7 separate regions of the Homo sapiens genome follow, and all the other regions are linked to region 1. Evidence: promoter capture Hi-C in human tissues and cell types (Jung and others, 2019). All regions are on one chromosome and are shown on one strand. The core of a region is centred on a gene start or on the middle of the fragment in contact, and the rest is flanking DNA. Distances in the headings are between cores, read along the strand shown. Region 1 holds the start of APOBEC3H (apolipoprotein B mRNA editing enzyme catalytic subunit 3H). Region 2 holds the start of ATF4 (activating transcription factor 4). Region 3 holds the start of FAM227A (family with sequence similarity 227 member A). Region 4 overlaps NPTXR (neuronal pentraxin receptor). Region 5 overlaps GTPBP1 (GTP binding protein 1). Region 6 holds the start of DNAL4 (dynein axonemal light chain 4). Region 7 overlaps SUN2 (Sad1 and UNC84 domain containing 2).

Region 1 (3,355 bases), core at 226-2,725:
CCACCACGCCTGGCTAATTTTTGTATTTTTAGTAGAGACGAGGTTTCACCGTGTTGCCCAGGCTGGTCTCGAACTCCTGACCTCAGGTCATCAGCCTGCCTGAGCCTCCCGAAGTGCTGGGATTACAGGCGTGAGCCACAGCACCTGGCCTGGCTCTTTGGTGTTTATGATCTGAAGGGTGTTGGTTGATATGCATGAAGACGAGGACATGGGTTCCAGAATGCAAATGTGAAGTCCAGGTCCTTCATCTCTGACCTGGGAGGCCCTTTAGGAGCAGTAAGTCCCCTCCCTCGTGTCTCCTCTCCTGCTCCTTTCCATGGAGCAATGAAGAACCTCAAAGTAGCTAGCTGTGGGGGAGAAGGGACACAGGAAGTCCTGGCCAGCACTCCAGCTCTGCTGTTGATTTGCTGTGTGACGTGGGGACAGTATCTTAGCCTCTCTGTGCTTGGGACCTCCTCTGACTGTCAGGATCACTGCCCTCCCCTCCCAGTGCTATCTGGGGACTGGGCTAGATAATGGGCACTGGATCCGCTGGAGATGCAGTCCTGAGCCTGACCCCAGTGCTCATTTCACATCAGGCTCAGGGTCCTGCCAGGAGGCTGAATGCCAAAGGTCAGTGGGGTGGTGGGGAGGGGGCTGCAGCCTGCCCTGTCCACCAGGGGAGTGGCATCTGGTCTATGGTGTCAGCCCTGGTCTGGATCCCTGCTCCTTTCTGTGGCTTCTATTCCTTTCATTTATTTTAGTTTAGTTTAGTTTTTGAGACGGAGTTTTGTTCTTATTGCCCAGGCTGGAGTGCGGTTGGCCAGGTTGATTTTGAACTCCTGACTTCAGGCAATCCACCTGCCTCAGCCTCCCAAAGTGCTGGGATAACAGGCACCGTGACCAGCCATCAATTCCTTTCTTTTTTCTTTCTTTTTTATTTTTATTTATTTATTTATTTTTTGAGACAGGGTCTCGTTCTGTTGCCAGGGTGGAGTGCAGTGGTGCGACGTCGGCTCACTGCAACCTCTGCCTCCAAGGTTCAAGCAATTTCCCTGCCTCAGCCTCCCAAGCAGCTGGAACTACAGGCGCAGGCCACCAAACCTGGCTAATTTTTTGTATTTTAGCAGAGACGGGGTTTCACCATGTTGGCCAGGATGGTCTTCATCTCCTTACCTTGTAATTTGCCCACCTCAGCCTCCCAAAGTGTTCGGATTACAGGTGTGAGCCACCGCATCTGGCCTTTGTTCTTTTGTAAACTATACCTGGGGAGGGAGTTGAGTCTGGCTGTACCTGGAGAGGGAATTGGGGGTGGGAGGATGGGAGGTGAGCCACCTCCATCAGACTTCCCCTGCCAAGCCCGAGGAAATAGAGAAAGAAAGGAGCCTGAGGGATCTGAAGCACCCCAGGGCCCTCCCACTCCAGTCCCACAAAAGGAAGAGGGTGGAGCCACCCTCATCAAGCAGTGACTTTTTGTGACTTTTGGGAGAGCTGACCTTTTGTGACTTTTGGGAGAGCTGCCAAAAGTGAAACTTAGTGCCTCAGACAAGCAGGGGCAAGTCTGCTAAGGAAGCTGTGGCCAGAAGCACAGATCAGGTACTGCCGCCCACTCTGTCCACTGGGCCCTCTGCTGCCACTTCCTGCCTGGCAGCCCTTCTGTGCCTCAGCCCTGGCCTCCCGCTGCCCCAGCCCCAGCCCTGGGCTCCTTCTCCTCTGGCTCCCCTGCCATCCCCACTCCCACCCAGGCTCTTTGCCCTGCTGTGTGGTCACCCCACTGCTGCTTCTGAACGGGCCGCCTCCCCGGCCTGCACCAGCCCAAGACCCCTGCTGAGACTCTCCCCTAAGAGTCATGGCTGGGCTAGTGCTCCCCACCTTGGGAGGGTGCTCTCTCTGTGTGCTTCCTGCCATTCCTGGGCTCTGGAACTGGGAGAACTGAACTAAAGGATGATGGGAGCAATCTGGAATTTTGTTCACAGTGCTTTGATGAACTTTGTGTAAGATTACTTTGTTTCAATACAAAGTCTTAGGAGAGGGTGTGGGGAGGCAATGATCTCTGAAGCACAAGGCAAATCATCTCTTCCAAGGATGTCTCCACTGTGGGCAGAGGAGGATGCAGATGACCCTGAACACACACTCCTCCTCCATGATCAGTATTCACATTCACCGTTTATAATGACACCAGTAACACGGAATATACGGAAAAACTCAATGATCAGGAGAAATGCTTTTATTTTAAAATTTAGGAAGAAGAGAGCCTGGTTCCCAAAGGCTCCCTCCTGCAGGGCCCGTGATGCAGAGGCTGGCAGGGCTGGCCAGGAAAGTGGCCCAGCTCCATGGCCTGGGCAGGTTACCCCACCTCTCTGCACCTCTGGCCCCTCCTCTGTAAGATGAGAATGGCCCCTGCAGGCCTAGGGCAGCCTCACGTGAGCTCAGATCCTCTCAGCACTTAGAAGAGTGGCCTGGGCCTGGGGATGGAAGTGCTACCCTGATTTTTTGTTTCGTTTTGTTTTTTTGAGAAGGGGTGTCTCAGTCTGTTGCCCAGGCTGGAGCGCAATCTCGGCTCACTACAAGCTCCACCTCCTGGGTTCACGCCATTTTCCTGCCTGGCCAGGCAAAATGGCTCATGCCTGTAATCCCAACACTTTGGGAAGCTGAGAGGGGAGGATCATCACTAAAGGCCAGGAGTTCCAAACCAGCCTGGGCAACACAGGGAGACCCCCTTATCTACTAAAACTAAAAAAATAAAATAAAATAACATGAATAGGTAAAATGCCAGGAATTAATTGAACTGAAATATTAAGAGCTCTTATTTTGAAGGGGAGAATTTTATTCACTTTTCTTATTTTTAATGGGTTAGAGGATGGGTGGCAGAAATACTGGGAGGATGGGAGATCCATCCCTGGAAAGACCAGAGCTAGGGCCCTGAGCTGGGAGAGGTCACCCCGGCCCTGCTGCCCCTGCCAGCATCTCCTTCTCTTCTCCTCTCCCTGGTCTTCCTGCTTGGGAAAGCTGCAGAAATTCTCAGGACTTGGAGGCTTGAAATGCTCAGGGGTTTTCCAGAAAGCAGAATAGAAAGTAGATGGGCAACCATCAATCAGACAGGCCAAAGAAAAGGAGCTCAGGCCCTCGGGGAGACAGGAGGTGAGCGCATGGGTCACAATCCTGGCGGGGCGCGGTGGCTCACGCCTATAATCCCAGCACTTTGGGAGGCCGAGGTGGGTGGATCACCTGAGGTCAAAGGAGTTCAAGACCAGCCTGGCCAACATGGTAAAACTCCATCTCTACAAAAATACAAAAATTAGCCGGGCATGAAGGAGGGCGCTTGTAATTCCAGCTACTTGGGAGGCTGAGGCAGGAGAATTGCTTGAACCCGGGA
Region 2 (3,498 bases), core at 516-3,015, 420 kb after region 1:
GAGAGTGGCAGAAGTCAGGGTCAGGAGACCTGAGTTCTATGAACAGTGGCAGCAACAGCAACCATTATTGGGCGCTTACATGTACCAGGCAGGCACTGTGCTAAGTGCTTTACATGTATGATCTCACTTCATGAGGCAAGGATACTCATCAGTAGTCTCATTTTACAAATGAGGAAACTGAGGCTCAGAGAGTATAAGTCATTTAGCCAAAATGTCCCAGCCAGGATTCTTTTGGATGCGCTCCCCAAAATCTGTCTTCTAACTCCTACCCCATACTCCCTCCACTGGGAGCCTTGTGACTTTGAGCAAGAAGCTTCATCCCATTGGGCCTCGGTTTACCATTGGAAAGGATTTGTGGGCGAGGTTGAATGAGCGCAGCAGATGGCCTGTGGTTATTTAGAGCAGTGCTTCCCTGGTTGTTTGATATCACAGCGCTCATACTTGTGTGGCCCAGTGAAATGGAGGCGGAAACTCAAAGTTTCCACCTTCACAGGGCCTGACTGGAAGGGGCTGAAGGATGATGGGGAGGTTTCTTGTATTCTTAAAACAGACTACCCCTTCCCAACGCACAACCCCCAGTAAGTGGCCGTGGGTTCCCAAGCGCCTCTCCTCCCTGGGCCATGGGCGTGACTGCTGAAAAGCGGGTTAGGCCGGGGAGTTCAGAATCCGGAGTGAATCCGAACTACCCCAGGGAGACGGCAGCGAAGAAAATCTTGTTCTTAGGAGAACGCAATCTTCGGACACCAGAAGTTCCTCTATGATGCTATTCTGTGGCAGCCTTGCACTTGAGCCGGATGAAAATTGTAAAAACCCAGGTTGGGCGACAGGACGGCGCGTCTTCCCGGCTCCTTTCCAGAGTTTAGGAGGAGCCATGCAGACTCAGCCGGCCTTTGGGGGTAGGTGGACAGGCCCGGCGCGCCCTCTCGAGGCCCCTTCAACCTCCCGGGGGCAGCAGCGCCGTGTCGGCTATGAATGGGGCCTCTGGAAAACTCAGGCTTGGAACAGGTAACCCCCCGGTTTCCGCAGGCCACAAATCACCACCCGCAACCGAAGGACGCGCAGGCTGGGAGCGGCGGCGGGGCCACCAGTGCGGACCTCCACTGAGGGCGGCGGGATCCGACCGCAAGGGCTGGTCCCTGAGGCCACTAAGGGGTGCGCTGGGCTAAGGCCGCCTGGGGGCAGGAGCCAGCGCGATCGTGGCGGGCCAGCAGGCGGGGCTGGCTGAGGACTAGCAGCGACCCGAGACCCCAACCCTTCCCACGCGGACCCCGGGATCCCTCTCCCAGCAGCCGCCCATCTAGGGCCCTGAGCCAATAAGAGCTCGAGATATATATGATTCACCGGGCCTGGGCCAATCACCTTGACGCGCGCTCTTCGCCAGCACCTCGCGCGATAACCTGGCGTCCTCGGCCTTCACAATAAAAACTCTTCGCCGGAAAACGACCTTTCCCCGCCCACTGCGCTGACACCGGAAGCGAGGCGTGTCTGGGAGATCACTCCGCGCTCCGGCGGCGAAGGAAAGAACGGACTCTGATCATAGAAGCCTAGTAAAGTAGTACACCTCTCTCCTTTCGTGAGGCCATAAGAACAAACTCCTTTTCTCGTCACAGCTACGCCCTGGGCATAAACGGTTGGGGCGTCAAAGGGAGGGAGGGAAGGGAGCGGGCGGGAGGAGACGGTCACGTGGTCGCGGCGGAAGGATGCGTCTGTGCTGCGTCCCCATAGAGACGAAGTCTATAAAGGGCCGGCGGGCGGCCACGGCAGCCATTTCTACTTTGCCCGCCCACAGATGTAGTTTTCTCTGCGCGTGTGCGTTTTCCCTCCTCCCCGCCCTCAGGGTCCACGGCCACCATGGCGTATTAGGGGCAGCAGTGCCTGCGGCAGCATTGGCCTTTGCAGCGGCGGCAGCAGCACCAGGCTCTGCAGCGGCAACCCCCAGCGGCTTAAGCCATGGCGTGAGTACCGGGGCGGGTCGTCCAGCTGTGCTCCTGGGGCCGGCGCGGGTTTTGGATTGGTGGGGTGCGGCCTGGGGCCAGGGCGGTGCCGCCAAGGGGGAAGCGATTTAACGAGCGCCCGGGACGCGTGGTCTTTGCTTGGGTGTCCCCGAGACGCTCGCGTGCCTGGGATCGGGAAAGCGTAGTCGGGTGCCCGGACTGCTTCCCCAGGAGCCCTACAGCCCTCGGACCCCGAGCCCCGCAAGGGTCCCAGGGGTCTTGGCTGTTGCCCCACGAAACGTGGCAGGAACCAAGATGGCGGCGGCAGGGCGGCGGCGCGGGCGTGAGTCAAGGGCGGGCGGTGGGCGGGGCGCGGCCGCCCTGGCCGTATTTGGACGTGGGGACGGAGCGCTTTCCTCTTGGCGGCCGGTGGAAGAATCCCCTGGTCTCCGTGAGCGTCCATTTTGTGGAACCTGAGTTGCAAGCAGGGAGGGGCAAATACAACTGCCCTGTTCCCGATTCTCTAGATGGCCGATCTAGAGAAGTCCCGCCTCATAAGTGGAAGGATGAAATTCTCAGAACAGCTAACCTCTAATGGGAGTTGGCTTCTGATTCTCATTCAGGCTTCTCACGGCATTCAGCAGCAGCGTTGCTGTAACCGACAAAGACACCTTCGAATTAAGCACATTCCTCGATTCCAGCAAAGCACCGCAACATGACCGAAATGAGCTTCCTGAGCAGCGAGGTGTTGGTGGGGGACTTGATGTCCCCCTTCGACCAGTCGGGTTTGGGGGCTGAAGAAAGCCTAGGTCTCTTAGATGATTACCTGGAGGTGGCCAAGCACTTCAAACCTCATGGGTTCTCCAGCGACAAGGCTAAGGCGGGCTCCTCCGAATGGCTGGCTGTGGATGGGTTGGTCAGTCCCTCCAACAACAGCAAGGGTGAGTGGGCCACCACCACATCGTCCTGGTGGGATCTAGGGTTAGGGGCCTCCTACCTTTGTATCTGACTCACTTGGCCCCATCACTCAAATGTTTTGCAGAGGATGCCTTCTCCGGGACAGATTGGATGTTGGAGAAAATGGATTTGAAGGAGTTCGACTTGGATGCCCTGTTGGGTATAGATGACCTGGAAACCATGCCAGATGACCTTCTGACCACGTTGGATGACACTTGTGATCTCTTTGCCCCCCTAGTCCAGGAGACTAATAAGCAGCCCCCCCAGACGGTGAACCCAATTGGCCATCTCCCAGAAAGTTTAACAAAACCCGACCAGGTTGCCCCCTTCACCTTCTTACAACCTCTTCCCCTTTCCCCAGGGGTCCTGTCCTCCACTCCAGATCATTCCTTTAGTTTAGAGCTGGGCAGTGAAGTGGATATCACTGAAGGAGATAGGAAGCCAGACTACACTGCTTACGTTGCCATGATCCCTCAGTGCATAAAGGAGGAAGACACCCCTTCAGATAATGATAGTGGCATCTGTATGAGCCCAGAGTCCTATCTGGGGTCTCCTCAGCACAGCCCCTCTACCAGGGGCTCTCCAAATAGGAGCCTCCCATCTCCAG
Region 3 (3,199 bases), core at 72-2,571, 440 kb before region 1:
CGGAGGTTGCAGTGAGCCAAGATCATGCCACTGCACTCCAGCCTGGGCGACAGAGCGAGACTCTGTCTCGAAAAAAAAAAAAAGTAAAATTTTTTTAAAGTAAAGCAATAAAAGAATGGCTACTCCATAGATAGAACAGCCAAGAGTAAAATTTTAATTTTAATTAATTCAAATTTTGGCCAGGCGCAGTGGCCCGCACCTGTAATACCAGCACTTTGGGAGGCCGAGTCAAGCAGATCACCTGAGGTCAGGAGTTCGAGACCAGCCTGGCCAACATGGTGAAACGCCATCTCTACTAAAAATACAAAAAATTAGCCGGGCATGGTGGTGGGTGCCTGTAATTCCAGCTACTTGGGAGGTGAACACAGCAGAATCGCTTGAACCCGGGAGGCCGAGATCATGCCACTGCAATCCCAGCCTGGGCAACAGAGTGAGACTCTGTCTTAAAAAAAAAAAAAATTAAATTTTTAAATGGAAGCAGTGCAAATTTAGAAATACTGATTATATCTTGAAATAGTAATGTTTTGGACATATGGAGTTTAAAACATTACTCAAATTAATTTCACTTGGCTTTCTTTTTTACTTTTTAAAAAATGTGGCTACTAGAAAATTCCAAATCACATATGTGGCCTGCTTTATGTTTCTATTGCACAATGCTAAGCCAGATTGTGAAGATTTTAGTTCTAGGACATGGAAGTCTCCCCTCTTTTAATGCAGGGTGGTGTAGTTGGAAGAGAACTGCGCTTGGAGTCAAAGACCCCTGGGTCCTGCCCCTCACTGGATGCCCTGATACACCCACTAGGCAGCCGGTAAACTCCTTGAACGGCCTAAGTTTCTGCACTTATCAGACGGAACCAATAACACACGCTTTTAGGACTCTAGGAGATCTGGAGTTGATTCTCCAGTAGTTCTCTGTCCCTTCCTCACAATGCAACCTTTAAGTAGTCCCTGGGCCTCAGCTTCCCTTGCTTGTAGAAGCCGCCATAACGGCACGGGGAGGGGGCAGGCTGCCAGAGGTGGGTCATGGTGCGTCTGTCCGTCCGTCTTACCTGAAAGCATCGGCGGAATTTGACGAACCCGGGGCCGGTCCCGCCACGGGTCCCTCAGGGGACCCCGCAAAGTTCTGGGTCGGCCCCCGACAGCCGGTGCCCCCAAACTCACAGCAAGGGGTGCCCTTTGCCTTGTGCTGGGGGATGAGGAGGGGAGTTGGGGAGAGGCCCATTTTGCTACTCTGAGTCCAGGCGTTCTCTAGGCAACGCCGGCGCGGTCTCCACTTTCCCGTTTAGCATAACAATGGAACCTTCGTGAGCCGCCGCGTTGTCCGCGAGATGCCGTTTCTATGGTGACAGCCGGGCCGGGGGCCCAGACCAATGTGTCAGTGGAGAGGGTGAATGCAGGTCCTGGTCCTAGAGGCATGAAAAGGACCCCAGAAGACACTGCCTTTGTATAATCCGTTTGCTATCCCGAGGTGATTCACGGAGTTTCTGGGGATTGGCGCAGGCTGGCGCTGGGAACCCCCGCGCCGGTTACCCCTTTCCTCGGTGGTAGAGGCCGGGCGGGGCAGCGCATGCGCGTGGCGGGCAGGCGGCAGGAGGCGGGTGGGTCAAGGTAACTCTGGGCTACAGAGTCCTTGCTGGGGGTTCGGGGAGCGCTTGGACCCCGGCTTCTGGGACGCGTCAGGTACGTCTCCGAGTCCGGCGTCGCCGGCCAGCGCTGCCTGGGTTCACTCGGGGGCCCGAGCTGAGTAGGACGTCCGGGCCTCGCCTGGAGAGAGGCTTCAGGAGGGCCTGGGGAAGGGGACGGAGGCCGGGCGACCCCGGGCGGTGGCCGCCCTCCTCTGTGTGTCTCCGCGGTTGTGAATTGGGGCGGTAATTCCTCCCCGTAGGTCGCCGTGAAGATGATTGCATGAGATCGTGCGTGTGAACGTTTGTTGACAGCTGTTACTTGAGTCCGACAGCCCTGGGGGCCGTGCATCTGCGTAACATGGCTACCTCTGAACTCCTTGGGGGACACGTATATCTTTGAGAATCCGATGAAAACCAGAGATTCCGCCCTTGTTTTCTTAGAATTAAAGTAAGATAATATATTTTATGGCCTGTTGCAAACGGAAAACCTTTACACAATGATTAGTGATTAGTATCAGTATCTGTGGACTGGGAAGGCTCTACTTACTCGATCCTCTTCCCAGGGTCGTTGTGAGGATCAAGTGCACAGCTTCCTATAAACACTAAAACACTATAACATCTTGTGAGCCAGGTACTATTATTATTCCTCAGTGCAAAGAAAGAAGCCGAAGTCCAAGGGGGATAAATGCTGGGGTCCCACTGTGGGTGAGCCGCAGAGTGATCATTGGAAGCCAGGTGCTCCCCCTTCACTTCCTGTGTGCGGAGCACGCTCGCCCTGGGAGTTTCACTAGAAAGAAGGTTGCCATGGGCCAGTGGGACAGCTTGTATCTCAAGTGCACGCGGATGCCCCAGAATCCCAGGATCTCAGCTGAGCTGTTTGTGGATTATTAGATCTGACTTAAAAGGTAGCTAATCCAGACCCTTCCTCATCTGTAATACATGGATGACAGCTCCCAGCTGTAGTGTTATGAGAATTAGTGCGGTCATGAGTAAGGTGCCCAGTTAAAGCCCGAGAAGTAAAGCAGCTGGGCCAAGGTCTAGCAGGCAACTGAAGGGGAGAGCCAGGCCCCTAAACTTGTTGTGTCCAGCCCATGTGCTCAGGCCCAGTGCAGTTAGCATCAGTGGGGACTTGACTTATTTCTCCTTCTTCAAATGTCTCTAGATTTTAGGCATGCTGGGGGCTGCTTCTTAACTGTGTTTTGTTTATTTTGTTCATAAGTAATACATGAATATATTCTCATTGTAATAATTCATTAAATCTCGAGTATATTTAATATAATTTTATATTGTACCATATGAAATTGTCACAATTTGACCTTTTTTTAACCTATAAAATGACAAGTTCATTCAAGTCAGTCATCCTATTCCCTTTTTCAGGTTTAACCACTATGAACAGTTTGGTGTATCCTTCCAGATCTCTTTCTTTCTTTTCTATTTTTTTTTTCTTTGAGATGGGGTCTTGTTCTGTCACCCAGGCTAGAAAGCAGTGGTGCAATTTCAGCTCACTGCAACCTCTGCCTCCTGGGTTCAAGCAATTATCCTGCCTCAGCCTCCTGAGTATCTGGGACAACTGG
Region 4 (3,473 bases), core at 691-3,190, 260 kb before region 1:
TGAGTCATGATCATACCACTGCACTCCAGCCTGAGCAACAGAGCGAGACAAAAAAAAGTGTGTGTGGGGTGAAACAGACTTCCTCTTGTTCATTCCCAGGACAGATGGAAGGATGGGAGGACAAGTGACAGGCCCTCATGGACTATAAAAGCATAATGCCAACTGTGGGGCTTGACTACATTAGCTGATGGGGCGCTCATTACCTCCAGAGCCTTCAGGTGACACTGGATGGCCCACAGGGTGACAGGGTCAGCCACCCACTGCATTCGAGATGGCTGGACTTCCAGGAAGCCTTGGACTGAGGCAATCAGCTCAAGGGGCGCATTTCATCTCAGGGCTGGAAGGGCGGGCTGGGGCAGGGTGTCCCTGGTCCCAGGTACTGTTCTGTCCTCAGTTCTCCACCCGCTCTGTGCCAAGCTTGAGGCCAGAGGGGCATGCGGGAGTGAGGCTGTGCACCGGGCCCATCATAGGCACTTGGCATGTGTTTACTCATGAATCCTCGCAGCTGCTCGCTGAGGCTGGCACTCTTCGTATCCCCATTTCACAGATGGGAAACCAAGGCAGGAGTCGTTTTGAATTGTCTATAGCAATGGGGCTGGGCCAAACCGATACCCCTGGAGCCAGCATCTCCTCTCTCCAGCAAAGGGAGAGAGGGAGGAAGACTTGCCAGGAAGAACAGAGGGAGGAAGATCTGCCAGCAAGAACAGGGAGTCGAGGCTATTTAAACAGACGCTGTTTGGAGGAGAAAACGTGCGGGCTGAGGGGGTGTGCGCTCAAGCTGTTCTTTTGTCAGAGCCACTGGCTCTGCAGCGGCCAGGAAGGCCATGGAGGAGGTGGGCTCGCCGGATCGTGTGTGAGTCCCTCCCCGTCCCAGTGTCTGAATCAGAAGAACACGACTCCCGCACCCCCACTTCCCATCTGCTGTGGGCGCAGGCTGTGCCGCGTGGGCTCCCGGCCCGATGCCAACTGGGCCCCTCACCTAAGATGATGGAGGGAATGATGACGCCAGCACCCCCACTCAGCTCCTGCTGGGGCAGAAAGGTGGAGGCTGGGAACCCATGGCCTGTCCCGCTGGGAGTCCGGGGTGGGGTTTGGCGTAAGTGTGCTGGGCCTAGAGCCAGAGCCCCTTGTTCTAGGCCTGGCTCAGCCATAATGTGCTGGGCTCATTAGCACTCAATCAGAATGCTAACGGCAGCAGCTGTCTCCATCGAGCACTCGCTGCATGCCAGGCCCCGCACTAGGGAAGATCTGTGCAAACAGTTCTAGGCTGCTCTCAACAGCCTGGGGAAGTAGGGAGGCCCACTCAGAGATGAGGGAACTGAGGCTCAGTGCCTGTCTAAGGTCACATACCTGTGACGCTGCAGAGCCAGCACTCCAGCCTGGCCTTCCTGATCCTGAAATCTGTGCTCATTCCTCAGGCTCACACTGATGGTCTGGGTCTGTTGGTTGATCTGCCAAGTGGGCACAGTGCTGGTTGCCCTGCCTAACTCGAAGGCAAGCAGGAGAGGTACTAATGGCCACGGGAAGTCTAGAAGATCCAGAAGGTTGTGTGAGACTATGGCGCAGGGCAGCTTCACAAAGGGAGACTGATAGGAGGGTCCTGCCAGCGTGGGGTGGCTGAGGCTGGGAGGATGCAGGGAAACCCCATCACCTTAGCCCCACCCGGGGTCTATTCCCTTGCTGCAGGGAGCAGAAGGCAGGTGCAGGACTCCAGGGCCAGAGTCCCATCCTCTGCACAGCCCACAGACTGTGCTCATTCCTCAGGCCTACACTGCTGGTCTGGGTCTGTTGAGGGTCAGGGTCCCACCCTCTGCACCACTGCCCCTGCCCAGGATCACCCAGGTAGTGGTACTCCCAGCTGGCAGTGAGGCAGAGGCTGTTCTGGGACGGCCAGACCACCAGGTTTTGCAACGGTGGGAGTTTGGGGTCAGAAAGCTTTCTCAGAGAAACCCCATCCTGCCACCCCACCTCCCTCACCAGGGGCAGACTGCAGGGGCACCAGGACCAGGTGGAAAGTGAGCAGCCTTCAGGGGGAGCAGTGTGGACCACGGCCCCTCACCTCCCCCATCCAACCATCCCCTGAGTTCTGAGTCCTGCTAGGGCTCACACCTGGGCTTCACCAGCTGAGTGGCCTTGTTATGTAACGGTGCCATGCCTCAGTTTCCCCATTGGCCCCAAAGGGTAAAAGAGTAAATCTCATAGCATCGTGGTGAGGATTGACTGAGTTCATAGACAGAAAGCGCTTAGTGCGCGGTAGGCATAGGAAGCATCACAGGCGTGTCTACTATTAATGTCGTGACTAACAATTTTTTTTTTTTTTTTGCGATGGAGTTTCTTTTTTTTTTGAGACAGAGTCTCGCTGTTGCCCAGGCTGGAGTGCAGTGGCACGATCTCGGCTCACTGCAGGCTCCGCCCCCCTGGGGTTCACGCCATTCTCCTGCCTCAGCCTCCCGAGTAGCTGGGACTACAGGCGCCTGCCACCTCACCCAGCTAATTTTTTGTATTTTTAGTAGAGATGGGGTTTCACTGTGTTAGCCAGGATGGTCTCCATCTCCTGACCTTGTGATGGGGATCAGCTGATTGGAAACGTTTGGTTCTTGAGCCTGGGCAGGGGCCTGGGTAGTAGTATTTATGCCTTTTTGCCCATCTGAAATACTTGACATGATTTTCTTTTAAAAACAGGAAAACAATCCTAAAGTGGCATCTCTAGTGGTTGAATCTAACCCTGCTTCTTACCCAGAGCTTCATGAAGTGGTGTCTCTAATGCTTGAATCTAAACCTGCGTCTCGCCCAGAGCTTCACTCAGCTCCTAGCCTTCTCCCTAGTCCTGGCTACTCTCCGCTGGACTGTGCCACAGCTTCCACTCCCACCCTCCACACAGCGGCCAGAGGCAAATCCAGCCATGTTGCTCTCCTGCTTAAAATCCTTCCACAGCCCCGTCTCCCTGCCAATAAAGTCCCTGTCCTCCTGGCTTCAGCCCTTACCCCGACAGGACATAGGTCACGCCCACTGAAAGTCCTCTGCTGCTCAACTGCCCCAAACTCCTTCTCACCCTAAGGCCTCCACACATGCTGTTCCTTCTCCAAGAACATTCTTCCCGCCCCCACCCCTCCTCTGCCCATTGCCTGCTCATCCTCCAGATGGCAGCTTCCCTGATGCCTGAACTGAGATGCTCTATAGAGAGAGAAGAGGGCCCTGAGAGCTTCTCTGGCAGGGCTGCAGAGCACTCATCCATCCATCCATCCATCCATCATCCATCCATCCATCCATCCATCCATCCATCCATCCATGTGTGCCGCAGCAACATGGCGTCGTAGTTGCAGACACGAACTGTCACGTTAGACAGGCCAGCGTCATTTTCAGTTCCTTGCTTACTAGATCTGCGACCTTGGGCAAGCTGCTTAACTCCTCTGGCCCTCAGTTACCTTATCTGTAAAATGGGTGTAATAATAGTACCTACATTTGGGGATATA
Region 5 (3,540 bases), core at 38-2,537, 380 kb before region 1:
TATGATAGCATTCTATATGCAACTTACTTTTTTTTTCCCCTTAAAAGCATATTTTGGAGATTAGTCCATATCAGTAGATAAAAATTTCTTCTTTTGTACAGCACATTTCATACACGTGCCCTGATTTATGTAACCAGTCCTTACGGTGATATTTGGAAACATTTATTGTTACTGGAAGGATAGTAATAGTAATAACAGGTGCAATTGCTTAAACACCTAGTTCCTGCTAGTTGTGTGCTGGACACTTCATGTGTGTTGTGACATTTAAACATCAAGTGACCCTCTGAAGTGGATATTGTTATCTCCCCATTTTACAGATGGGGAAACTGAGGGCCAGTGATGTTAAGTTGAATCCACTTTTTGTTGTTGTTGTTTATGAGACACAGTCTCGCTCTGTCACCCAGGCTAGAGTGCAGTAGCTCGATCATGGCTCACTGCAGCCACAACCTCCCAGGCTCAAGTGATCCTCCCACCTCAGCCTCCCAAGTAGCTGAGACTACAGCGTATCCTGCCACACCCAGTCAATTTTTCTTTTTTTTGTAGGGTGGGGGAAACAGAGTTTCGCTCTTGTTGCCCAGGCTGGAGTGCAATGGCACGATCTCGGCTCACCACAACCTCCACCTCCCAGATTCAAGCGATTTTCCTGCCTCAGCCTCCTGAGTAGCTGGGATTACAGGCATGTGCCACCACGCCTGGCTAATTTTGTATTTTAGTAGAGACAGGGTTTCTCCATGTTGTTCAGGCTGGTCGCGAACTCCCGACCTCAGGTGATCCGCCTGCCTTGACCTCGCAAAGTGCTGGGGTTACAGGAGTGAGCCACCGTGCCCAGCCTTAATTTTTGTATTTTTTTGTAGAGACGGAGGTCTTACCAGGTTGTCCTGCCTGGTCTCAAACTCCTGGCCTCAAGTGATCTGCCTTCCTTGGCCTCCCAAAGTGCTGGGGTTACAGGCATGAGCCACTGCTCCTGACTTGGATTCATTTTGATGGCTCAGGACAGTTGTTTCCCTGACTGGGTTTATCTTTTTTATTGTTTGCAAGTCTCCTCCGATTTTGACGCCCCACATCATCGAGTCAGGGGTTAACGTGATTTTTGCCCAGCCCAGCTTTCATCCACATCTGCTTTTGAGCCCCTGTGTCCACCCAGCAGCAATCTCTTTCTCTCTCGTCCTGACACTTCCTTTCTGTGTTGGGGCAGGTGGGCAGCAATGCTGGCATCGTGGGGATGACCAAAGAACACCTGGGCTTGGCACTGGCACTCAATGTACCTGTCTTTGTGGTAGTCACCAAGATTGACATGTGTCCTGCCAACATCCTGCAAGGTAAGTGAAGCCTCCAGCTAGCAGCAGCCCCTCTGATTGGGGCTGTCACCTGCTGTGCCTTCAGGTGGTCTGCTACCACGGCTTTAGCCCAGAAACTTCTTTTCTTTTTTATTTTTATTTTTTTATTTTACAATATGTTTATTTTTATTATGTGCTCTACATTGAACACTTCAGCAAAGAAAATAATTATAATAATTTCAAAATGCAATCCCTGGATCCAATAACTATCCTTTATAATCCGTTACACTGGTCAGTATCTAGAAATATATGTAGACAAAGTTAGCTAATGAATAAAATAAGTAAAATGACTAGGTAAACTATAAATTTCAAGCATGAGGGATCATGCATGATCAGTTAAGTCACTCTGCCACTTTTTAAAATAATATTCACATTTGCTTCAATCACATAAACATTCATTGCAGGAGTTAAATTTGACTGCTGATAACAATTGAAAGCTGTGATCTTTGTTAGCTTAAAAGAAAATTCAGCTTAATACAAAGACATTCAAGATGAAAATTTCAGGACCCTTGATCAGAAGCTTTCAATGTGTGTTGCTCCACTTTGTTGTAGGCAAGCTTCAAGTAAGGCTAAGACAGAAGAGTGTTTCTACTGAAGATGTGATCTAAGAATTGCCTTCTACAGAGGCGAATTATATTCTGTAGAAACTAGCTAGCCACCAAGATGTTACCAATAAAGGATTCCTTATACTAGCAACTAACCATGTTTAAAAGGCCTTAGCCATTTAGAGTAATATTTATGAGTACAAGCATAATTGGTTCCTTGCCTTCTACAGATAATCATCTATAAAATGATAAAAGCAGGCTTCAACTGTGTTTCTTCTCTGGGGTGAGAAGGTGCAGATACACATGGGTGATCTACTGATTTACCTTCTGAAAGTACTCTTTGGAAGCAGCTGGATTTGGCTTGATTGTAGGAGAATCCAGTGTCCAGTTTGCTGGGCAGACTTCTCCATGGGTTTCTACATACTGGAACGCCTTCACCAAGTGGAGGGTTTCTTCCACGCTTCGGCCCACTGGGAGGTCATTGACGCTCAAGTGCTTGATGACTCCATTGGGGTCAGTTATGAAGAGACCTCTTAGTGCAAGACCAGAACCTTCTAACAGCACACCGTAGTCTCAGGAAGTTTGCTCAAATCTGACAAGAGTGGGATGTTCATGTGGTCCAAACCACCATTATTTCTTGGTGTATTTATCCAGGCAAGATGACTAAAGTGGGAATCCACTGAGACCACAACTTCACAGTTCACATCATGAAATTCCTTAGCTTTGTCACTAAAAGCAACAGTTTCTGTAGGACCACGAAGGTGAAATCCAAAGGATAGAAGAAAAGCACCAAATTATTTCCCCTTAAAGTCATCAAGGCTTAGGTCTTTGAACTCTCCATTGACAATGGCTGTACCCTTAAAATAGGGTGCATGCTGGGCGACAGCAGGTGCATGGTATGAGGAGCTGGTGCTAAAGAATTTTGCTTGACTGGAACCAGACCATAATATGTTTGTCAAGCTCGTTCTTCCAGAAGCAGCAAGCTTGAGGGCTGCAGTGGCAGAAATGCCCCAAGGAATGGCACTCACATGTCGGGCAGCCGATGCTCAGAGTAGCCTTCCCACAGCAGCTACCATCTTCAGTGCACGCGGGCGAAACTTCCTTTGTCTTGTACTTAGGTCTTGGCCTGAATTTCCATCAGCCCAGAATCTTCTGCTACTTCCTCCCCTATTTAGTTCTTGGTCTGAACACAGCCTAGAATTATCCTCTTCCTTGTTCCTTCTGGTTCCAAATGCAGAAATCTTGAGATCCTGAATCTGGCACCTCTTTTCAGGTGACCCCAGGCAGAAGGAGTTGGGCTCTACCAGCTAAGCTGGATATATACGGGGAAGTTTGGACAGAGGGTCTGATTACCTTTTGCCACCAAAGCTTTGACACAGGGTTGCAGGACTAAGCCTTCATGCCTTTCTCCCTCACTGCTAAAGATTGTAGAAAAGTATCCCTTTGGGAAGCCTCATAATAAGGGTCTCTGTAGACTTCTAAATGTCTAAGAGATCCTTTTTGTTGGATGAGATTTTTTTCCAGGAAGTAGTGCATTCTGAGAACTGAAGTGTGAAGTGAATTGTTTTTCTTGGGGACCCTCAAGTCACATGCTTACAGGAGGCAGGTCGTCTAGACACAAGAGAAATCTGCCAGGTTTCAGACGCAGAACCCTAGAA
Region 6 (3,303 bases), core at 621-3,120, 300 kb before region 1:
CTATTTCTTTTTTACTTTTTTTTTTTTGAGACAAAGTTTTACTCTTGTTGCCCAGGCTTGAGCGCAATGGCGCTATCTCGGCGCACTGAAACCTCCACCTCCCGGGTTCACGCCATTCTCCTGTCTCAGCCTCCTGAGTAGCTGGGATTACAGGTGCCCGCTACCACGTCTGGCTAATTTTTTGTATTTTTAGTAGGGACAGGTTTTACCATGTTGGCCAGGCTAGTCTCAAACTCTTGACCTCAGGTGATCTGCCTGTGTCGGCCTCCCGAAGTGCTGGGATTAATAGGCGTGAGCCACCGCTCCTGGCCTTTATTTTTTATTTTTAACATTTTTAACTTTTTTGTTAAAACTCAGACACAGATACACTAGCCTAAGCCTACACAGGGTCAGGATGCTTAGTGTCACTATCTTCCACTACCACATCTTGTCCCGCTGGACGGTCTTCAGGGCAATAACACGCATGGAGCTGTCATCTCCTATGATAACAAAGCCTTTTGCTTGAATACCTCCTGAAGGACCTATCTAAGACTGTTTACGGTTAAATTTTATTTTCTTATAAGTAGGAGGAGTGTACACTGTAAAATAACAATAAAAGTGTAGGATAGTAAACACATAAACAAGTAACAGTCATTTATTACCATTATCAAGTATGATGTCCTGTACACAATTGTATGTGCTATATTTTATATGACTGGCAGCACTGTAGGTTTGCTTACACCAGCATCACCACACACGTGAGTCATGCATTTTGCTTTGACATTACGATAGCTATGTAACTAGGTGATAGAAATTTGTCAGCTCCATTATAACCTTAGGGCACCACCGTGGTATCTGTGGTCTTTCTTGACCAAAACGTTGTTATATGGTACATGACTGTATTTCAATCTCCATCTGTCCCCTCCCCACCCCTAAGTAACCCTAACCATGGAAGCCCAGGAGGAAGATCAGAGAGGGTCAACTGGAGAAATGACAGTTCATGCTGACCGGGTTGATAACATTTCCCAGAGAGGGAAAATGTGGTGAAGAGACAAAGGAAAGAAACTAACAAATACTGAATCTATACTGGACTGGACTCTGTACTTCATATTAGCCTCAGAATTACCAAAGGAGATGCACCGACGTATACTGATTTTACATATGCACTGATTAAAAGCGCAGGGAGGGTAGGTCTTGAGACTGGGAATCCAAATTAGGTTTGCCAAGTTATTTTCACAATACACGATACCTCCCATTGGGGAGCACATCCTCTCGGAAGCCTAAAGTTGGGTCAAAGAACAACGACATCCTAGAACGTCAGAGTGGAAGAGGCCTTAGAGATCACTCAACTCAACTTCTCATTTACAGATGGGGAAACTGAGGCCCAAACAGGGGAAATGACCAGCCCAGAATCCCAGTAAGTCGCCAACTCTCCAAGCCAAGAGCGGTCTGACCTAGTTGATGGCGACCCCGCGGGAGAGGGAATTACTCCGCGAAAGGTCGAGGGATCAAGGTGCTGGGGGAAGTCGGCTAAAGGGGGACGCGGGACCACGAAGCTGGGCAGGCCTTGGGTGGGTGGGGAAGAGCAGCCGGCAGAGTCGCGATGGCAAACCTGTCACGACAGAGCTCGCAGGTCCCGAAGTGGGGGTGAGGGTGGGGGTTGAGGATGGGAAGACCTGGGGCAGGGGAACAGCAGGCAGGAGACCGAGGTGGGGCCTCGGCGGCGGGCGAGGCCTCTTCCGCCCTGCGTTGCCTCCCGCCCTCCCTCCGGGCCGGCCCTCCCCGCCTGGCTGCCCGCCGCGCCCCGGGGCCTCACCTGCTCCTGCGGGGGCCGGAGCCGGGGCCGCAGCCAGCGAACCCCCGCCAGGGTTGTCAAGGAGCGAAACAAGAGTGTCTTAGCAACCAGCAAGGAAGTCCTGCCCCCTCACCGGACGTTGACGAGAATTTCACTTATTATTGGTGGATAAAAGTATCAATCAGAGTGAAAGGCCCTTATAAGTCAGGCGTTTGCAAGGACAGGGGCGTGGTTTAGAGGCCAGGGAGGCGGGACTTCACTTATAGTTGTCTTAAGCGTGCCCGAGGAGCAGGGGACACATTGAAGTTCTTTTTCTAGGGAAACAAACTTCGAAAAGCAGTACTGCCTTGGGAGGTTCTTTTAGTCACTTGAAATAACAAATGCAACTTGTTGGTGTCGTGACACTTAGCCACTACTTTATTGGGATCTGAAAAGCCTGATAATAACTAGCATTTTTGTAGGGCTGTACAATTAATATCTCACTTGATTCTCATTACAGTACTTTTAGGTGATAATATTCGTCATCCCATCTGAACTAAAGTTCAGAGAGGTTAAGTAACTTGGTAAAGGATGGAGGTAATCTCCCTGGAGAAGGAACCCAGGGGCTCCTTCCTCTGTGCCACACCCTTGTATGGTCACCTAGCTCTAGTCACTAGGAGACATTTGTACCACCTAATTTCAGACACAGTTGCCCAGAGCCTGCCTTTTCTTCCCCTTGGGAGGGAAAATTAATCCGAAAGTACGGAGAAGGAAAAGGGGAAAGGGGAAGAACTGGCGGATTCTATTATTTGATTGGTAGATCAAAGGGTCAGTTGGGTACTTCGTAGTTTAAACCTTTATTATTGTGATGAGTACTTGGGGTGAAACCCCACTGCCACATTTACTAGCATTGAAGCTGTCTTTGCCAAAATTATAACTGAGGAAATTATGACAGTGAAAGAGATCAGACCTAACCCACTCCATCTTGCCTTTCTAGCCTTTAAGCTGTCTTTGTTCATTCCTAGGCATAGGCTGAACGAACCTTGGGAAGGAATTTAGTTTATAGTTTTACTCTGAAACAAAATTGACAATAGCCCTTTCCCAAAAAGGCTCCCTTCCTGCCTTGGGACCAGTCTGCCTTTGTAGGACTAACAAATTAGCTACAACATTAGAAATTATGGTTTAGGGGTCACACAGCAGCCTCTGGCTGCAAGAGTCTGAACCTTCCCAAATTGCTCCTGGGGATAACATCACTATTGTAAAACCTAAGATCAGCGCTTGAGATATTTTGCAGACCCTGCGCTCGATGGATCAGCTGACACCACCCAGACCAGTAATGTGGCTCAAACAGTTCTGTGATCCCACCCAGGAACAGAAGACAGCAAGAAAACCTCACTTCGACCCCCTCAGTATTCCATCTTCGACTTAATCAATCAACACTCCTCGCTTGCCAAGCCCCTACCCACAAAATTATCTTTAAAACCTCTGATCCCTGAATGCTTGGGTAGCATATTCAACTGCCTCCTAGCCATGTGCACCAGAATGTTCCA
Region 7 (3,646 bases), core at 1,147-3,646, 350 kb before region 1:
CCTTCATCTTTCTGTAAGTGGCAAAACTTGGAGAAAACATTTTGAATGAGTTAGGGATGATCCAGGGTACAGCCCAGAGGACCTGATGGTGGTTCTCAGCCCTGTCTGGTCGTCAGAATCACCTGGGGAGATTTTAGTACAACCAGGTCTGGCCCTGCCCTCTGGAGAGCAAGCTAATTGGCCTGGGGTGGGGCCCCTGCGTAGGTGAGTTTGTAAAGCTTCCTGGTGACTGTCATGGGCCGCCATGGCTGAGAGTCACTGCAACAGAAAGCACCACCCCCTCTAAGAGAGGCTGCTCGAGGCCCAGACACGAGCACCAAGCTGCAGCCACACAGAGACATGTTCATTCTGTTTTCAGGGCCATCTGTTTGATACCTGTTTACTCCTGAGCTCTGGGGCAGGTGGCAGGGGAGCGGGGGAGGGAGGGCTTTCTGTCCTGATAAAGCTCCATTCGCTACTCAAGCACCAGAGGTTGGCAGGTGCAAAAGGAAGCTCATGCCCATGGGGCTTGAAGTCCAGCATGGACATGGCCTTCATGCACACACTCCCCGAGCAGGTCACTGAGCCCCCTCCACGTGCATCTCCATGTGATGGGTTCACAGCACTGACTACAGCAACCCCACAAGGCCATGGTGAAGCTCAAATTGAACTGAGATAATGCACGGGAAAGTGCTCTCTGGGTACATTGCTATGCAATTATAAAGAATCACTGACTGGGCCGGGCGCGGTGGCTCACGCCTGTAATCCCAGCACTTTGGGAGGCCGAGGCGGGTGGATCACGAGGTCAGGAGATCGAGACCATCCTGGCTAATATGGTGACACCCCATCTCTACTAAAAATACAAAAAGAAATTAGCCAGGCGTGGTGGCGGCCGCCTGTAGTCCCAGCTACTCGGGAGGCTGAGGCAGGAGAATGGCGTGAACCTGGGAGGTGGAGCTTGCAGTGAGTCAAGATCGCACGACTGCACTCCAGCCTGGGCGACAGACTCCATCACACACACACAAAAAAGAATCACTGACTGGGCGTGGTGGCTCACACCTGTAATGCCAGCACTTCGGGAGGCCGAGGCAGGTGGATCACTTGAGGTCAGGAGTTTGAGACCAGACTGGCCAACATGGCGAAACCCCGTCTCTACTAAAAATATAAAAATTAGCTGGGCGTGGTGGCATGCACCTGTAATCCCAGCTACTCGGGAGGCTGAGGCAGGAGAATCGCTTGAACCCGGGAGGTGGAGGTTGCAGTGAGCCAAGATTGTGCCACAGCACTCGAGCCTGGGCAACAGAGCAAAACTCCGTCTCAAAAAAAAAAAAAAAAAGAAGAAGAATCATTATTATTTTAAGGGTGGTGCTCAGTTGCCACTGGATATGAACCAGCTGTTCTTGTAGCAGCAAACACAAAAACGAAGCTAACTTTTGGAAAAGTGTTCTACCCTGTTATTAATAAAAGAAATACAAGTTGAATGATATTAAGCTTATAAAACAAACTCTCAAAAAATAATAAAGCATGGTCTTTAATTACTTGGTGCAGTCATTAAAATTGAGCTGAGAGTCACATAGGCAATTCATATGAAACTAGCCAAGCTGTCAAGTAAAAAGCTGAACACAAAATGTCTATATAAACAAGGAAGGGCTGGGTGCAGTGGCTCACACCTGTAATCCCGACACTTTGGGAGGCCGAGGTGGGTGGATCACTTGAGGTCAGGAGTTTGAGACCAGCCTGGCCAACATGGTGAAACCCCGTCTCTACTAAAAATACAAAAATTAGCCATGTGTGGTGCTGCATGCCTGTAATCCCAGCTACTTGGGAGGCTGACGTGGGAGGATCACCTGAGCTCAGAAGGTCAAGGCTGCAGTGAGCTGTGTTCGTGCCACTGCACTTCAGCTGGGGTGACAGAAGAAGACTTTGTCTCAAAACAAACAAAAAACCAAGGCAGGCCTGTGCTAGCGCCTGGGATGATTCAGGACAGCTGGTAAGTGACTGGTGTAAAAAGAGGCACTTATGGCCGGGCACGGTGGCTCATGCCTGTAATCCCAGCACTTTGGGAGGCCGAGGCAGCTGGATCACCTGAGGTCAGGAGTTCGAGACCAGCCTGACAACATGGAGAAACCCCATCTCTAGTAAAAATACAAAATTAGCTGGGCATGTTGGCGCATGCCTGTAATCCCAGCTACTCGGGAGGCTGAGGCAGGAGAATCACTTGAACCTGAGAGGTGGAGGTTGTGGTGAGCTGACATCGCGCCATTGCACTCCAGCCTGGGCAACAAGAGCAAAAACTCTGTCTCAAAAAACAAACAAAAAAGGCACTTATTTCCCTTTGCTGCTTCATTGTTTTTACTTTAAAGACAGCTCAAGATTTAACTTCATCTTGTAAAAATAACTCCCTCATAGCAGATGTCCCTGTTGGAGTGGAAGGAGGATGACTGCTAATGATAATGGGAGGGCATCCCGCTTTTCACCCAATGTTGCGGCACTAGGGTGTGCTCCTGCCCAGGGCGGCACAAAAGAGGCTCAGGAGAGGTGGGGAGGGCCATGCAGAGATGATCCAGGGTCCAGGGCTCAGGCCCTGCCCAGTCACAGGCACACCCCACCCAGTCTTGCCCCTTCCCTGCCTGCCAAAGGTCACCACCCTCTGGTGAACACATCTCTGTGCCTCCCTCTGCTCTCCCCATGCAGGCTCACCATACGTCAGGCACGTCAGCAAGAGCAGCGGCAGCAGGAACCAGAGGAACGTCTTCAGGGACGAGAAGCGCCTGGACCACGCGGGAGGGCAGGACGGGGGAGGCGGAGGTGTGAGGGGAGCTCCAGGCCTCCACGTTCCACCCAGGGAGTACCCTGAGATGTTTTCCTGGGTGCTGAACTAGAGCTAAGGAGGATAGCTTGAGCTTCTCACTGTGCCAGGGCCAGCCTGGACACGTCAGAGCCTTTCCTGCTGGGCAGGTCTTAGAGTGATGGGACAATTTTGACTGAATTTTACTGATGTTATTAAAAATAGTGTGGTCTTTGAAAAACTCAAAAATTTTTATATGGACAGGTCCTCTAAGTATGCAAATATAGAAAAAAAAAGTAACTCCTTAAATAACAACAAGGAACCTGTTTTTGGTGACACAAACCCATCCTTGCCCCTTGTTTCAGTATGGCCAGCTGTCCCCTCTGCCCGGACCTGGATTACGGCCAGAGGGATCCTGACTTCTGGGTTCCGTGTTCTTCTGCCTAAGGGGCACATTCTCAAATCCTGGTTCTGCTGGTTTAGGGACTTGGGGAATGAACCCATAGCATCCTCAGGCAGAGCCTCTTTGTGGCTCTGACCATGAGTGGGGAACTCGGGGGGTTAGATTGTCCCAGGCCCAAGAAGGAAGATGGACTTTCTGGGAAACCCCACTTCTTGCCTGGAGTCAGTGGGCCTACCCTGCAGGAGGAAAGCCATCGTGTGTCTGAGAGCCAGGCACGGCTAGACTAGTGTGGCGTTTAGTAGAATGTGTCCAAGAAGAAATAATCTGTGCTCTGGAATCCTGCCTCGAAGGGCTATCAATTCGGGGAGAAGAACCTGACTCTGAGTCCATCCTCTGTCAGGCAGGGGTGGGCTTTGGGGAAGCTACTCCGTGATCGCTAATAAAGGCTCCAGGGAAACTGGGGAAAACCCTCAGAG

Evidence for each region. Contacts are between HindIII fragments. The study calls those that stand out against the background at their distance.
Region 2: the fragment with the promoter of ATF4 here is called in contact with the fragment with the promoter of APOBEC3H in region 1 in 2 of the 25 tissues and cell types used here (heart right ventricle and mesendoderm cells).
Region 3: a contact is called between the fragment with the promoter of FAM227A here and the fragment with the promoter of APOBEC3H in region 1, in 1 of the 25 tissues and cell types used here (mesenchymal stem cells).
Region 4: a contact is called between a fragment that was not itself captured here and the fragment with the promoter of APOBEC3H in region 1, in 5 of the 25 tissues and cell types used here (IMR-90 fibroblasts, adrenal gland, pancreas and 2 more).
Region 5: a fragment that was not itself captured here is called in contact with the fragment with the promoter of APOBEC3H in region 1 in 2 of the 25 tissues and cell types used here (heart left ventricle and heart right ventricle).
Region 6: a contact is called between the fragment with the promoter of DNAL4 here and the fragment with the promoter of APOBEC3H in region 1, in 12 of the 25 tissues and cell types used here (IMR-90 fibroblasts, adrenal gland, bladder and 9 more).
Region 7: a fragment that was not itself captured here is called in contact with the fragment with the promoter of APOBEC3H in region 1 in 1 of the 25 tissues and cell types used here (bladder).

The regions. Positions count from the first base shown.
Region 1 is chr22:39,095,769-39,099,123 of GRCh38, forward strand. APOBEC3H (apolipoprotein B mRNA editing enzyme catalytic subunit 3H) reads left to right here and starts at 1,476. Exons shown (of 5, transcript NM_181773.5): 1 at 1,476-1,575. RefSeq lists enhancers at 598-1,797, 1,120-2,007, 1,338-1,677, 2,008-2,894. The HindIII fragment of the contact is 18,686 bases long and covers 1-3,355 here.
Region 2 is chr22:39,518,797-39,522,294 of GRCh38, forward strand. ATF4 (activating transcription factor 4) reads left to right here and starts at 1,766. Exons shown (of 3, transcript NM_182810.3): 1 at 1,766-1,955; 2 at 2,558-2,875; 3 at 2,977-3,498. The coding sequence starts at 2,650. RefSeq lists a silencer at 1,104-1,303 and enhancers at 1,684-1,833, 2,194-2,243. The HindIII fragment of the contact is 4,198 bases long and covers 1-3,147 here.
Region 3 is chr22:38,655,071-38,658,269 of GRCh38, forward strand. FAM227A (family with sequence similarity 227 member A) reads right to left here and starts at 1,322. Exons shown (of 17, transcript NM_001013647.2): 1 at 1,050-1,322. It overlaps CBY1 (chibby 1, beta catenin antagonist), which reads left to right and starts at 1,568. Exons shown (of 5, transcript NM_015373.4): 1 at 1,568-1,680. The HindIII fragment of the contact is 5,432 bases long and covers 1-2,255 here.
Region 4 is chr22:38,831,350-38,834,822 of GRCh38, forward strand. All of the region lies in intron 1 of NPTXR (neuronal pentraxin receptor), which reads right to left. Among named protein-coding and RNA genes, the nearest start is that of NPTXR, 11 kb to the right of the region's middle. The HindIII fragment of the contact is 5,879 bases long and covers 1-3,473 here.
Region 5 is chr22:38,720,547-38,724,086 of GRCh38, forward strand. It overlaps GTPBP1 (GTP binding protein 1), which reads left to right. Exons shown (of 12, transcript NM_004286.5): 5 at 1,196-1,319. It also overlaps the pseudogene PRDX3P1. Among named protein-coding and RNA genes, the nearest start is that of GTPBP1, 16 kb to the left of the region's middle. The HindIII fragment of the contact is 3,539 bases long and covers 1-3,057 here.
Region 6 is chr22:38,792,273-38,795,575 of GRCh38, forward strand. It overlaps DNAL4 (dynein axonemal light chain 4), which reads right to left and starts at 1,871. Exons shown (of 4, transcript NM_005740.3): 1 at 1,796-1,871. RefSeq lists a silencer at 1,613-2,062. The HindIII fragment of the contact is 13,707 bases long and covers 1-3,303 here.
Region 7 is chr22:38,746,034-38,749,679 of GRCh38, forward strand. It overlaps SUN2 (Sad1 and UNC84 domain containing 2), which reads right to left. Exons shown (of 18, transcript NM_015374.3): 7 at 2,680-2,750. Among named protein-coding and RNA genes, the nearest start is that of SUN2, 8.1 kb to the right of the region's middle. The HindIII fragment of the contact is 3,105 bases long and covers 845-3,646 here.